4 separate regions of the Homo sapiens genome follow, and all the other regions are linked to region 3. Evidence: promoter capture Hi-C in 16 types of primary human blood cells and fetal thymus (Javierre and others, 2016). All regions are on one chromosome and are shown on one strand. The core of a region is centred on a gene start or on the middle of the fragment in contact, and the rest is flanking DNA. Distances in the headings are between cores, read along the strand shown. Region 1 overlaps NPR2 (natriuretic peptide receptor 2). Region 2 overlaps TLN1 (talin 1). Region 3 holds the start of STOML2 (stomatin like 2). Region 4 holds the start of KIF24 (kinesin family member 24).

Region 1 (2,700 bases), core at 1-2,500, 710 kb after region 3:
CTCGTATGGCCCTAGCATTACTAGATGCAGTTTCTTCCTTTCGCATCCGCCACCGACCCCATGACCAGCTGAGGCTACGCATAGGGGTCCATACTGGTAAGGCTGACTCTCACTCCAGCCCTAGTCTCCACCTTTCCCAGACTCTCCCAACCTGTTTCTTCTCAAAGGGCCAGTCTGTGCTGGGGTTGTTGGCCTGAAGATGCCCCGTTATTGTCTTTTTGGAGACACAGTGAACACTGCTTCTCGAATGGAGTCTAATGGTCAAGGTAAGACATTAGCCCTCAACCCCACTGTTGGCCTCAATTTATCTTGCCCTTTTCTTCTTTTCATAATCCCTCCAATTTCTTAATCTGAGAGACCACAGTTCCTTAGTGTCGCATCCTCGGGCATATTTTGGTTCTAATAGATATGCATTGGGAGGTTGGGCATATTTTGGTCCTAATAGATATGCATTGGGAGCTTCCCAGGGATGGTTGGTCGGGCACGGTGCTATACAGTATCACCAATTATTTGATTGCCTTTTCTTTGATTCCTCATTCCACCATCCTCCCCATTCCACCCACCCCAGCGCTGAAGATCCATGTCTCCTCTACCACCAAGGATGCCCTAGATGAGCTAGGATGCTTCCAGCTAGAGCTTCGGGGGGATGTGGAAATGAAGGTGATGGCAGGCCATGGGGAGGGGGGCATGGAAAGGGAGGGTGAAAGTGATTATGGGAATCATAGGGAAAGAGAGGGAGACAAAGGGACTAACATCGAAGCATCTGAATCATGTCCACTCTCCCACTTCCAGGGAAAAGGAAAGATGCGAACATACTGGCTCTTAGGAGAGCGGAAAGGACCTCCTGGACTCCTGTAAACCCCCATTCTTTCCAAGTCAGATAGTCTTCTGCTGCTGGTACCTGGGTGGGCAATGGCCACCATGTCTGCACACACCAGAAATGGACATTTTCATATGCAATGGAAAACAGCCACAAAAAAACCTACCTTATATGGAAGTTGTAGCCCTCTGCAGCTCAGCCCTGTACATATACCTGTCCCTCTCTGGCTTGGTCCCCTTCCTCCCTACTTTCTGTAAATATCTGTATCTAAACCAGAATATTTTGGTCAAATATAAAACAATAATAAAAAAAGTTCTGATGTCATAGTGTGGGATAGGGGCAATCCCAAGGAAAGGTTATGGGGTATGCACACAGTGACTCACAGAATCACTAAATTAGCAGTCTTGGGATGAGAGAGAACCCTTTATGTAAAGCCTCTTCAAGTACAGTGAGAATTAACTTCCTCCCGACCTCTCTAGTGCAGACAGAAATAGATTCCATATTCCATACCCCACTTCCCTCCTCACCCCTCAGAAAGGAGTCATTCTCCCCCCTCCACCACCCAGCCTTCCTCCGGGACAGGGAAGGGAAGATATTTCTCCCAATTGGTAGGGGTAATTCTCAGGTTCATAGGGCAAAAGTTTCCCCAGAGACAAGGGTACTGGTGTTGAGAAGCTGCAGTTCTTCCGGAATGGTGTGTCCAATGTCCTGATGTTACTGACACCCTGGAGGAGTGCCAGGATGAGGATGGATCCCACTCTCCCCAAGCCAGAACAAAACAACTCTGCCCTACCTTTCCTGCCCCGCTCTGCCCCCAACACCTAGTCACCCTCACACACCGGCAGCTGTGGTGCCCTCTGTATCCAGAAGGTCTCAGGTTGCTCCTGGCGGTAGTCGTGAGGCTGTGAGGGAGGGTACTGAGTAACTCCTGGCCTTCAGCCCTCTCTCTCAACCTCTGGGCTTGGTACTTGGCCACAGCCTGTCAGAGCCCAGCTGGTGCAAGTGGCGGGGGATGGGGGGTGGGTTCTCACCTTTGTTGGGGCAGGAGTCCCTGCTTGTGCCAGCTCCATTCGGTAGTCATGGTGTGTCACAGACTCAACCTCGAAGAGCTTCCTTGTGGGTTCCTGTTCTGCCTGCACCTCTTTACTATGTAGCCCGAGGGGTGTCAAGGCCATTCTCACCCAATTTTTCTCCTCCCCATCCCTCTTCCCCTTTACCCAATCCCTTACCAGATCTGATGCTGCAGGAGCATCTCCAGCATGGCTTCACGCTTCCCTGTGAGAGAGTTGGGGGGTGGGCAAGGTGGGGTCTGGTTAAGAAGGAGGCCCAGAAGAAACTAACTTGAGAAAAGGAAGAAGAACCTTGGGGTTCCGCCCTTATATCCACTGGAGAATCCACAGCCCCACCAGAAATTCCTTCCTCTTCTTCCCTCTGAGTAATGGGCTCGTTCTGGCCTACCCTCTCACATTTCACACCTCGAAGTGGCCAATAGACGTTTCCTGGTGGCTGGTACGAGTCTTTCTGGGTGGTGCTGGAGGGCATGGGTGACTTTAGTTGCATAGTCAGCAGTCCCCGGTGTCCGTGTCGGAAGAAAAAACTCTCAGAGCCATCCTGCATGCTTGGGACTTGATCCAGGTGGTTGGTGGCTCTCTGTGGATCCCAAGTTGAATGACTATAATATCCCTTCTGGTACCCACCCTCATGTAAACTACTGCCTCCCCTAAGAAACTGAGGGCAGCCTTCAAGAAAAGGGAGCAGGCCAAAACTTTAATACCTCTTCCTCCCAGTTGTAGAGGAGGCACTGGCCCCGCGGCAAAGTTTCATAGCAAACCATAAGCTTCCCTTTAATGTCTGGGGGTTTCCATAGTCCTCGGGCACCC
Region 2 (2,700 bases), core at 17-2,516, 590 kb after region 3:
CAGCTTCTCGGGAGGCTGAGGCAGGAGAATTGCTTGAACCGGGACACAGGAGGTGGAGGTTGCAGTGAGCCGAGATCACGCCACTACACTCCAGCCTGGGCTACAGACCGAGACTCCGTCTCAAAAAAAAAAAAAAATTTTTTTTTTTTACTTCATCAAGGACATTTTTTTTGAGTCTTGCTCTGTTGCCCAGGCTGGAGTGCAGTGGCGTGATCTTGGCTCACTGCAACCTCCGCATCACAGGTTCAAGCAATTCTGGTGCCTCAGCCTCCCAAGTAGCTGGGAATTACAGGTGTGCACCACCATCCCCAGCTAAGGAAAATAATGTCTTGGTATTTTTATGAAAATAATTTTGACCTATGGACCCCTGAAAAGGTCTTAGGGAACCCTAGGGGTCTGAGGACCACATTTGAAGAGCTGCTGGTTTAATAGGTTTTAAAGCCTCTCCCCAGATGGCTCCCAAGGTATCACTAGTGAGAAGTATGTGATTGGTCCCAGTTCCTGAGGACATGACAAGGAAATGGTAACAGGAGTAAGCAGCTGTCCTGGGCTCCTAGCTGGAGTTCAAAGTCTAGACTGCCACTTGTCGGGGAGGTTATAGAAGGGATTTGATCTCCAAGGTCCTCAACTGATACTATGACATTGAATCTGGGATTAGGGAGCCCCCACAGTATGTACTGGAGTTGCCAGTCCTCTGCGTCAGAGAAGTGATAATACATCTCAATTTTCCAGTGCTTAGCACAAGCATGGCTTAGTAAATATTGAATGAATGAATCACAGGTGATAGGAGTGATGGTAGGAGGTTGGCACCATCCCTAATGGGCTGTCCTAGAGTTCCATCTACTTTCTTAGAGAAGGGCTCTCACTCCGTCACCCAGGCTGGTGCACAGTGGCACCATCATAGCTCACTGCAGCCTTGAACTCCTGGTCTCAAGCAGTCCTCCTGCCTCAGCCTTTTAAGTAGCTGGGATTAGAGGCTCGAACCACCGTTACCAGCTACATTCCATCTACTTCAAGCTTTCCCTAATGTGGTGGGAGTAGAAGGTGTTAGTAGCAGATGGGTGGCGTTTGTGTTCTACTTGAGGAAATAATGTACTGGGCGGTAGGGCTGACTAAAGAATCACGCATGAAAATAGTTGCCAACCTAAGACGACTGTCAGAGAGTCCATGCATTATGGACAGAGTGGCTGGATGGGGACGTGGAAGCACACAGCATCCACCTCTCTGACTGCCTCTTTCCACTGACCCACCAGATAAGCAGGGTGGCTGGAACAGGGCTGCTAGCACCTTCCTGGCCACTAGGGGAGCTCTGCCCCCTCTAACAATAAATTCTCACACCTGGGTCAAGCTCTTCACTTTTAGCGCTACCCTAGGCAGGAGTGTCCCAACCCAATCAAGAGCGGTGCCTACCCGAGGCAGCCTCAAGTTGGGATTTTTCTGCTTGCTAATGGCTTCAATCAGTTTTGTGGCCATAGTTCTCTTAGGCTCAGACACTTACAGGCATATTATTTTTAGCAAAGCTTCTTTTGAAAATTTGAATTTGGTCAAGGACTGGATTTGTTGACATACCCTGAGTAGCTATGAAGAACAGAATGTCCTGGTAGCCACAAGGAACTGTGGTAGCTGCTGTCCCAGCAGCAGCAGAACGACACTTTGTGAGGCTTAGGTGCTGGCCAGGGAGGTGAGGATAACAGGAGTATGACTTCTCAGGCACAACTTCCCCATTGGATAACTTTAGGGTCCGGGTGCAAGGAGGAAGGGACCTCAGGTGCAGACTGCCAGTCTTCCCCTCTCCCATTTCAAGCTGGATCAAGCTGGGTGACAGAATTCAACCCCACTGTCTCTCCTACTGCCCTGGGAGAAAACTTGTATCTCCCTTGAAGCCAGGCAGAGGTTGTAGGTAGAATCATTTTTATTGGAGCATGACCTGTTTGGGGCTTATAACTCTGCAGCCCCTATGGGTAGCTGGGGGTGGGGGAAGATAGTATCAAAAAACGGTGAAGAGAGCTGATGAGGCTGTGGGGACTGGCCGGAAGCTGCTGGCAGGGTGGAGTGGGCTGGGGCCCCGGCAGATTCAGATCGAGGTACAGCAGCGTTAATAATACTCTTGGAGCGTTAATACTCTGGGGAGGGGCAGGCACTTGGGGGGCCCTAGGGCATGAAGGCACTTGGGGTTGGGGAGGGGACAGGGGATGTACTGCGGGACTGGGCGGGGCCAGGCCCTGGGGTTTGGCAGGCACTTTGGGGAGTGCTGGGGTTGGGCAGGTTGGGCCCCGACAGCCCAGAAGGCTTTGGTAGTGGCACGCACAGTCTCTGGGCCGGGTCTGCATTAAATAGAAGAGGCTTCTTTAGTGCTCATCTCGAAGCTCTGAAGGCAGAAACTTGTACTGCTGCTGCCGGATCTGGGCCAGTTTCTTCCGCGCCTCTTCCAGCTCTCGTTCCTTCCGAAGCATTTCTTCCTGTGCTGCGATGATCTGAGGGTGGAGATCGGGGACTTAGTTCAGTGAGGATGCACAGCAGGGGCATAGGGTAGTTGGGACCAGCGCAGGCAACATGACTGCCCTCCTGACAGCGTCCCTCAGCATCTGGGGTGAAGCTCACCTGGGCAATGCCGCCAACCATCTTCTCTTTCACCACCACTGTCTCATTCTCCTGCTCTTCAAAGGCTGCAGCCTTCTGTGCTGCTTTCACCAGATTATC
Region 3 (2,907 bases), core at 400-2,899:
AACGGAGGCAGCGGATACCCCAGCAGTCAGCAGCTTGGTTGATGGCATCCACAATGCTGGCATTCAGGGACTCCCGTTCCTGGAAAAAGAGGTGTAAGCCCCACAGCCTCAACCTACCTATCAAGGGCCTACACTGAGAAGGGCCTGGGACTGATCTTGACCTTCAGAAAAGATTAAGAGTGTCAGGTTTGTGTCTTCAAACCCTAACTCTGGCTCAGATCTGCTTACCCGGAAGACTTTGTCCAGAGAGAGTTTGCCGAGCTCTGATCTCATGGTTGTTTGAGCTAGCTGGGTGACGGCATACTCAGGGTCCTCCACACCGTAGCTTGCCTGAGATGGACACGGATAGTGTAAGAAGCTTGGGCACAAGATTTTAGTGAAGAGGGCAACTCAAAAGGCTGGATAAAGTAGGGGACAGGTACCTTGTAAGGGTCCATGATGCGCAGGTAAAGGACTCCATCGATTTGCAGAGTTACATTGTCTGTAGAACCAGGAGAGAAAACGGGGAAAGTCAGGCCTCTAGGTCCCAACCAGTTCTTTCTACTAAGCTCTGGATCTACAGCAACCACATCCTAATAGCCTCAGAGCACCCATGTCACCCTGAACCCCTCACCGAGAGTCACAGCCGACTGCTCAGGCACGTTGATGACAATTTCCTTGAGACTCTGCACATATCGGATCCGGTCTAACACAGGGATGAGGATGTTCAAACCCTGGAAAGAGGAGTCATGGGTCCTCAGAAGGCTGGGAACTATTGGGTTGGGACCTAAGCTAGTCCTGGAGTATGTAGGGAGTCAACACATGGAACATGCCCAGAAAAGCAGCAGCTCCTACCAAGAAATAAGTCCTCAGAAGGCTGAGGTGTCACTGGTAAGAAAACCCAAGAGAACAGGAATGCAAGACTAGGCCCCTGAATGGAGGGGAGAGTCATGAGAATCGGAGCCAGCAGAATAGCCATCTCTATGCAGACTGAGAGGTAGGGCTGAGAGTGGGCAGGGGAGATTCCCAAGAATGGGGCCTGTGAGATGCATAGGAAAAGGTGGTAACATGGGGATGATGGTCAGCAGCCTGGGCCCTGTCAGGTCTGGCCTACAGAGTCGGGAGCTAACAGTGCGGGCAGGCCCAAAGGAAGTCCTCCCGACATTGCATGTCGTGAGGGATTGGTCATCTGGCTGGCCCAGGGTGGGCAGAAGAGGTTTCTCACAGGCTCCAGGATCCGGTGGAATCGGCCCATTCGCTCCACCACCCAGGCCTCCTGCTGCGGCACGAACAGTACCACGGTGTTTCGGGGCAATCCAGAGGAGGCGCGGCGCGGAGCGCGGCCAGAAGCCAGTAGAGAGCCCTGAAGGAAAGAAGAGGGTGAGCAGAGATCCCATCTGGCCAGACACGCCGCCCCTCGGTCCTGAAGGCATCTCCATAAACCACGACCCTCAGGATCCTCGGAGAATCACATGGGGACCATGACCTCTGACCCCAGTCCTCTCCAAAAGTTGGAATTTCGCTCTTTTCCAGCGGAGAACCCAGGTAATCTCTGTCCTGACCCTCTGGAAAGGTTGCCTCGCTCTCACCCTCAGCAAAAGGGCCCCAGTGCCCCGCGCCGCGCGCGCCAGCATTTCCCACCGCCGCAGCGACCTCCGGAACCAACGAGACGAGCGGAGCGGTCGCTCCCAGAAGCCTACCCGAGCCTTTCCTCTTGCAGTTCCGCTCCCCCGGATGTACTTCCGGCAGCTCCCTCCCCCGCTTCAACACTCACCCAATCAGCGTTACTTGGTCGAACGGCGCGTCAAGTTGTTCCCTGGGAAACGCAGACCTTCTAGAGAAGGGCGAAGGCTGTGGTTGTTCTGGGTTTAGCTGTTCACGCCGAAGATCCCCGGCCTGATGGCCAAAATGGAGGCTATTTTTCGCGGGCATTATCACTCAGACACCACGCACTGAATTATTCGTCCTCACCCGAGACTCAGTTTGCCCACCAGAGCGTAGTATCGCCCCCATCTGTCACCATAGCGACTAGTGGATTGGAGCTGACTCGTTGCCATGGTTGCCATAGTGATATTCTCTGGTAGTCCCGCTGTGTTGTGCCCAGGACTCCCACTGGGGACTGACCCCAATCCCGTTGCCATGGAAACTGGGCCTAATATTGCCTGGCGATTGGGCCGAGATTTTCCCCTCCCCTCTTTCCTCAAAGACACTGCAGCTCCTTCCCTGTCTTCCCAAGCAAGGTTTGTTATGCCCGGTCTTAAATACAGTCCAGCAAACAGCCTCAACGTTCAACCTTGTCTGGAGCATGTCACCTTGCCCACATCCCTAATGCTCTGGTAGTCAAGAGACCTCCGTAGTCACCTCCATTTTACATATGAGGGCACTGAAGTTCTGAGGGGCTAAAGTCATTAATAGAACCAGTATTAGAATCCTGATCTACAATTCAGAGTTCAGCTTCTACGGCTGAACTTTACCCACCAACCCCTCCGAAAGGAGAAAAACCAGGCCCCAGGAATCAGCAGGGACTAGCCTAAGACCTCATGGGCCCAGGCCTGTTGCCTCTCTGGTAGAAAGGGCTGAGTCCCAGCTCCAGGAAGGCCCTCCATCCCCCTTCACACCCTCTCCCCAACAACAACAACAACAACAAAAGTAGAGCTTAGTTCAAGTTTCCAAACAAGAATTTATTCTTTCTTTTTTAATCTTTTTTTCTAAAAAAAAGTACCAGGTACAATTTTTTCCTGTTTTTGATTTGCTTTGTTTTTTCAAGTTTCAGCAAATGCTTGTTCCCCTCAGCCCAGCCCCAGGAGTTAGGACTGAGGCTGGGTCAGAGTCTGGAGTGGGGAATGGGGTAGTTTGGAACCACATGACTGAGTTTGAGGGGTGCCCCTCACCCCAGCTGAGGTAGGTGGGTCAGAGTCTGGCCAGGTG
Region 4 (3,047 bases), core at 151-2,650, 770 kb before region 3:
ACTAAATGACTTGCAAAGCCACCCACAGTGAATTAGAGACAGAGACAGAGCCAAAGCCAAACCCACATGTAGTGGGTTTCCACTACATGTCACAGCTATAAGGTAGTGTTTCAAACTTTTATAAAAGGGTAACAAGAACATAGCTGCTGTACTGAACTTTTTCACTCCTTTTATTAAGGCCACCAGTGAGCTATGAATTTGATATAAGGAGCAATCACACCAACAATCAGGCTGTGAATATATAATCCATGAGTTAACAACGAAACAGTCTTAGGAACGCAATTCTATCATAGACACCTGATGAATAGATGGAGTTCACCTGAGCAGCTGTTATATGCACTTCAATAGAGAGACTACAAAGCCTCTCTACTTGTAGAATACAAGTACAAAGAAGATGCTTTAAAACATTTTCCAAAGCACACTTAAAATGTGACAATAGCTGCCGGTCACTAAGAAGCTAAAGGGAGATAAATTATCTTGGCATACAGCAACAGAATGGTTTATTTTAAGCAAAGACTAAAAGGAGTCTAATAAAATTATTGGGAGACCAAGGCTAAAAGCCACAGATGCAGGAAGAGTTGCAGCAACCAATCCAAAAAAGTTTAGCCTTTCACAAAGAGTAGAAAGGCCAGCTGTGGACTGTGTGTGGACTTTTAGGTCCTTTTGCATTGAAGATTAGGGTGGCCTCCCCCTAGCCTCGAAATAAAAAATCGTCTCTGAAGCAGAGAGACAACAAGGCAGGGCATGAAGAGGAATCCAATCTATTTCTTGTAAATTAAATTCAACTCAACAAATATTTCCTGAAAATCTACTATGTGCAAGACATTGTGAACGATGCTTGCCTTACCTCAAAGGCTTCAAAATTTTATGGGAAAAGGGAAGCGAACGGGCTTCCCGGAAGTAAACAACCCAAGGGCGAATAGAAATGCCCTAAAAGAGGTGCCGGTCAGGCTTATCGGTTCAAAAGCAAGAAGGCTTTGGGACTCAAGAGTTTAGTCTCCCAAAGTGAGAGAAGTGGCGTTCAAGATAATTGCTGAAGAAAAGGCAGAGATATGGGGATGAAAGATAGGAAAGTAGGTGAACTTTAGGAAGAGCCAAGAGGGGCCAACTCTCGGTTCCCTCACAACTGCCAGTTTCCTCCCGCGCTCAGCCGACGTCACGCGCACCCGTGTCCGCGGGCAGGCGCCACGGTTCCGGACCAGACCTACCCCTCCTCTATTCTCCCCGCCCTTTCTCACCTCGGTCCAAACTCCTCGGTCTGCCCTGTCTGAGAAGAGGAGAAGACAATGCCGTCGGGAGTGAGCCCCAAAGCCCGCAACCTAACAGTCCCGTCAACCCGGGAGCCACCGGCGGCGGCCAGGCCGCATCTCCATGGCAACGCCGCCAAGCGCCAGTTCGAACGCCCGCGCTGTGGCCCGCGCGTCGCCAGTCCCGCACCGCCCACCAATGGGCATCCAAGGAATCGGTTGACGTTCGTTGACTTCTCCTCTGGAAGACCAATCAGAGGTCTGAAGAAACCGTGGGCGTAACTCTCAATTTCCGACCTTCAGCCAATCGTTCCGCTTGAGGGAAGATCTCGCGACGTTTCAGTGTGAGACGCGCACCTTTGAGGCGGGTCGAAGATCCTTCTGCCGAATTCTATTGATGGGCCCAAGCGTAACCAGGCTCTTCTGATTGGCCGGTGTACTTCAGTTTCCGTCCAAGGTCCGCCTCCTACCTCCTTCTGCTTCGGGTGAGTACCCTTAAGGGCCCACTTGATTTTAGTTCTCAGTGGAGGAAATGAGCCTTGGAGCGATGGGAATCTGCCTCTGGCAAACCTCTGGTCGCTGCAGGGCCCGAGAGGGATGCGCCCTCCTCTAAGTTGGCAGTGAGGTGTGGGCAGGCCAGGTCCCATCCGCTCTCAGGACCTCAGTTTTCCTGTCTGCACCGGGAGAAGGGAGGTTCCCTGACTCTGAGCCTTGCTTGTCCCCGTCGGAGTGGGGATAGGGTGGGTCGTCCAAATCCCAGAGGCGGGAGAGGTCCAGGTTTAGGGCCCAGAGGCCCAGGCGCCGAACCTTCCCCTCCCTGGGCCTCAGTTTCACTTGTTGCTACCCATTAAACCCCGCCTGCTTTCCAAAAGAGATTTTATGTTTTCTAATTGCTTCAGTTATTGAATGGATAATATCGTGGCAGTTATAGCAGAAGTAAAGAAAGTCGAACAAGAGCCCCACCGCCTTAAACAAACAAACAAAAAAGGGACAGCGTAAACAATGCAGGCCGGGTGCGGTGGCTCACGCCTGTAATCCCAGCATTTTGGGAGGCCAAGGCGGGCGGATCACGAGGTCAGGAGATCGAGACCATCCTGGCTAACACGGTGAAACCCCGTCTCTACTAAACAAAATACAAAAGTTAGCCAGGCGTCGTGGCGGGCACGTATAGTCCCTGCTACTCGGGAGGCTGAGGCAGGAGAATGGCATGAACCCAGGAGGCGGAGCTTGCAGTGAGCGGAGGTCGCGCCACTGCACTCCAGCCTGGGCGACAGAGCGAGACTCCGTCTCAAAAACAAAACAAAACAAAAAAAAACTGAATGCAATCAAATTGTCAAATGTAAAACGCTATTATAGAGTTAAGGTTAAGATCATTGATGTTAGGAGTCAGGCAGACCTACATTTGAGTCACTTACCCAGACATCTCTGAGCTATAGTTCCCTTTCTACTCTTCTGAAAAATGGCAGTAATGCCTCAGCGGGTTGTTGTGAAGATTAAGTGAAATAATGAAGGTAAAGCACTTGACACAACGCCTGGCGAGTAGTAACTTCTTAAAAAATGGTAGCGGCCGGGCGCGGTGGCTCACGCCTGTAATCCTAGCCCTTTGGGAGGCCGAGGCGGGCGGATCACGAGGTCAGGAGATCGAGACCATCCTGGCTGACACGGTGAAACCCCGTCTCTACTAAAAACACAAAAAATTAGCCGGGCGTGGTGGCGGGCGCCTGTGGTCCCAGCTACTCGGGAGGCTGAGGCAGGAGAATGGCACGAACCCGGGAGGCGGAGTTTGCAGAGAGCAGAGAT

Evidence for each region. Contacts are between HindIII fragments. The CHiCAGO score rates a contact against its expected background, and 5 or more counts as called.
Region 1: a contact is called between a fragment that was not itself captured here and the fragment with the promoter of STOML2 in region 3, in 1 of 17 cell types (naive CD8 T cells). The highest score is 5.3, in naive CD8 T cells.
Region 2: a contact is called between a fragment that was not itself captured here and the fragment with the promoter of STOML2 in region 3, in 1 of 17 cell types (M2 macrophages). The highest score is 5.3, in M2 macrophages.
Region 4: a contact is called between the fragment with the promoter of KIF24 here and the fragment with the promoter of STOML2 in region 3, in 1 of 17 cell types (monocytes). The highest score is 6.8, in monocytes.

Annotation. Positions count from the first base shown.
Region 1 is chr9:35,808,588-35,811,287 of GRCh38, forward strand. NPR2 (natriuretic peptide receptor 2) reads left to right here. Exons shown (of 22, transcript NM_003995.4): 19 at 1-96; 20 at 168-266; 21 at 569-660; 22 at 793-1,144. The coding sequence ends at 858. It overlaps SPAG8 (sperm associated antigen 8), which reads right to left. Exons shown (of 7, transcript NM_001039592.2): 2 at 2,595-2,700; 3 at 2,296-2,470; 4 at 2,050-2,095; 5 at 1,852-1,966; 6 at 1,660-1,722; 7 at 1,208-1,545. The coding sequence ends at 1,351. Among named protein-coding and RNA genes, the nearest start is that of SPAG8, 2.3 kb to the right of the region's middle. The HindIII fragment of the contact is 2,809 bases long and covers 1-2,655 here.
Region 2 is chr9:35,695,443-35,698,142 of GRCh38, forward strand. TLN1 (talin 1) reads right to left here. Exons shown (of 57, transcript NM_006289.4): 56 at 2,602-2,700; 57 at 1,506-2,474. The coding sequence ends at 2,349. Among named protein-coding and RNA genes, the nearest start is that of TPM2, 6.9 kb to the left of the region's middle. The HindIII fragment of the contact is 503 bases long and covers 1,016-1,518 here.
Region 3 is chr9:35,101,482-35,104,388 of GRCh38, forward strand. It overlaps STOML2 (stomatin like 2), which reads right to left and starts at 1,650. Exons shown (of 10, transcript NM_013442.3): 1 at 1,569-1,650; 2 at 1,205-1,342; 3 at 614-713; 4 at 423-481; 5 at 229-330; 6 at 1-79. The coding sequence starts at 1,613. ATOSB (atos homolog B) reads right to left here. Exons shown (of 9, transcript NM_025182.4): 9 at 2,636-2,907. It also overlaps a transcript of PIGO-AS1 not described here. RefSeq lists enhancers at 1,028-1,287, 1,418-1,687, 1,698-1,747, 1,868-1,917. The HindIII fragment of the contact is 2,738 bases long and covers 357-2,907 here.
Region 4 is chr9:34,327,868-34,330,914 of GRCh38, forward strand. It overlaps KIF24 (kinesin family member 24), which reads right to left and starts at 1,401. Exons shown (of 13, transcript NM_194313.4): 1 at 1,239-1,401. It overlaps NUDT2 (nudix hydrolase 2), which reads left to right and starts at 1,702. Exons shown (of 5, transcript NM_001161.5): 1 at 1,702-1,732. RefSeq lists enhancers at 1,068-1,127, 1,228-1,327, 1,415-1,922, 1,458-1,647. The HindIII fragment of the contact is 30,936 bases long and covers 1-3,047 here.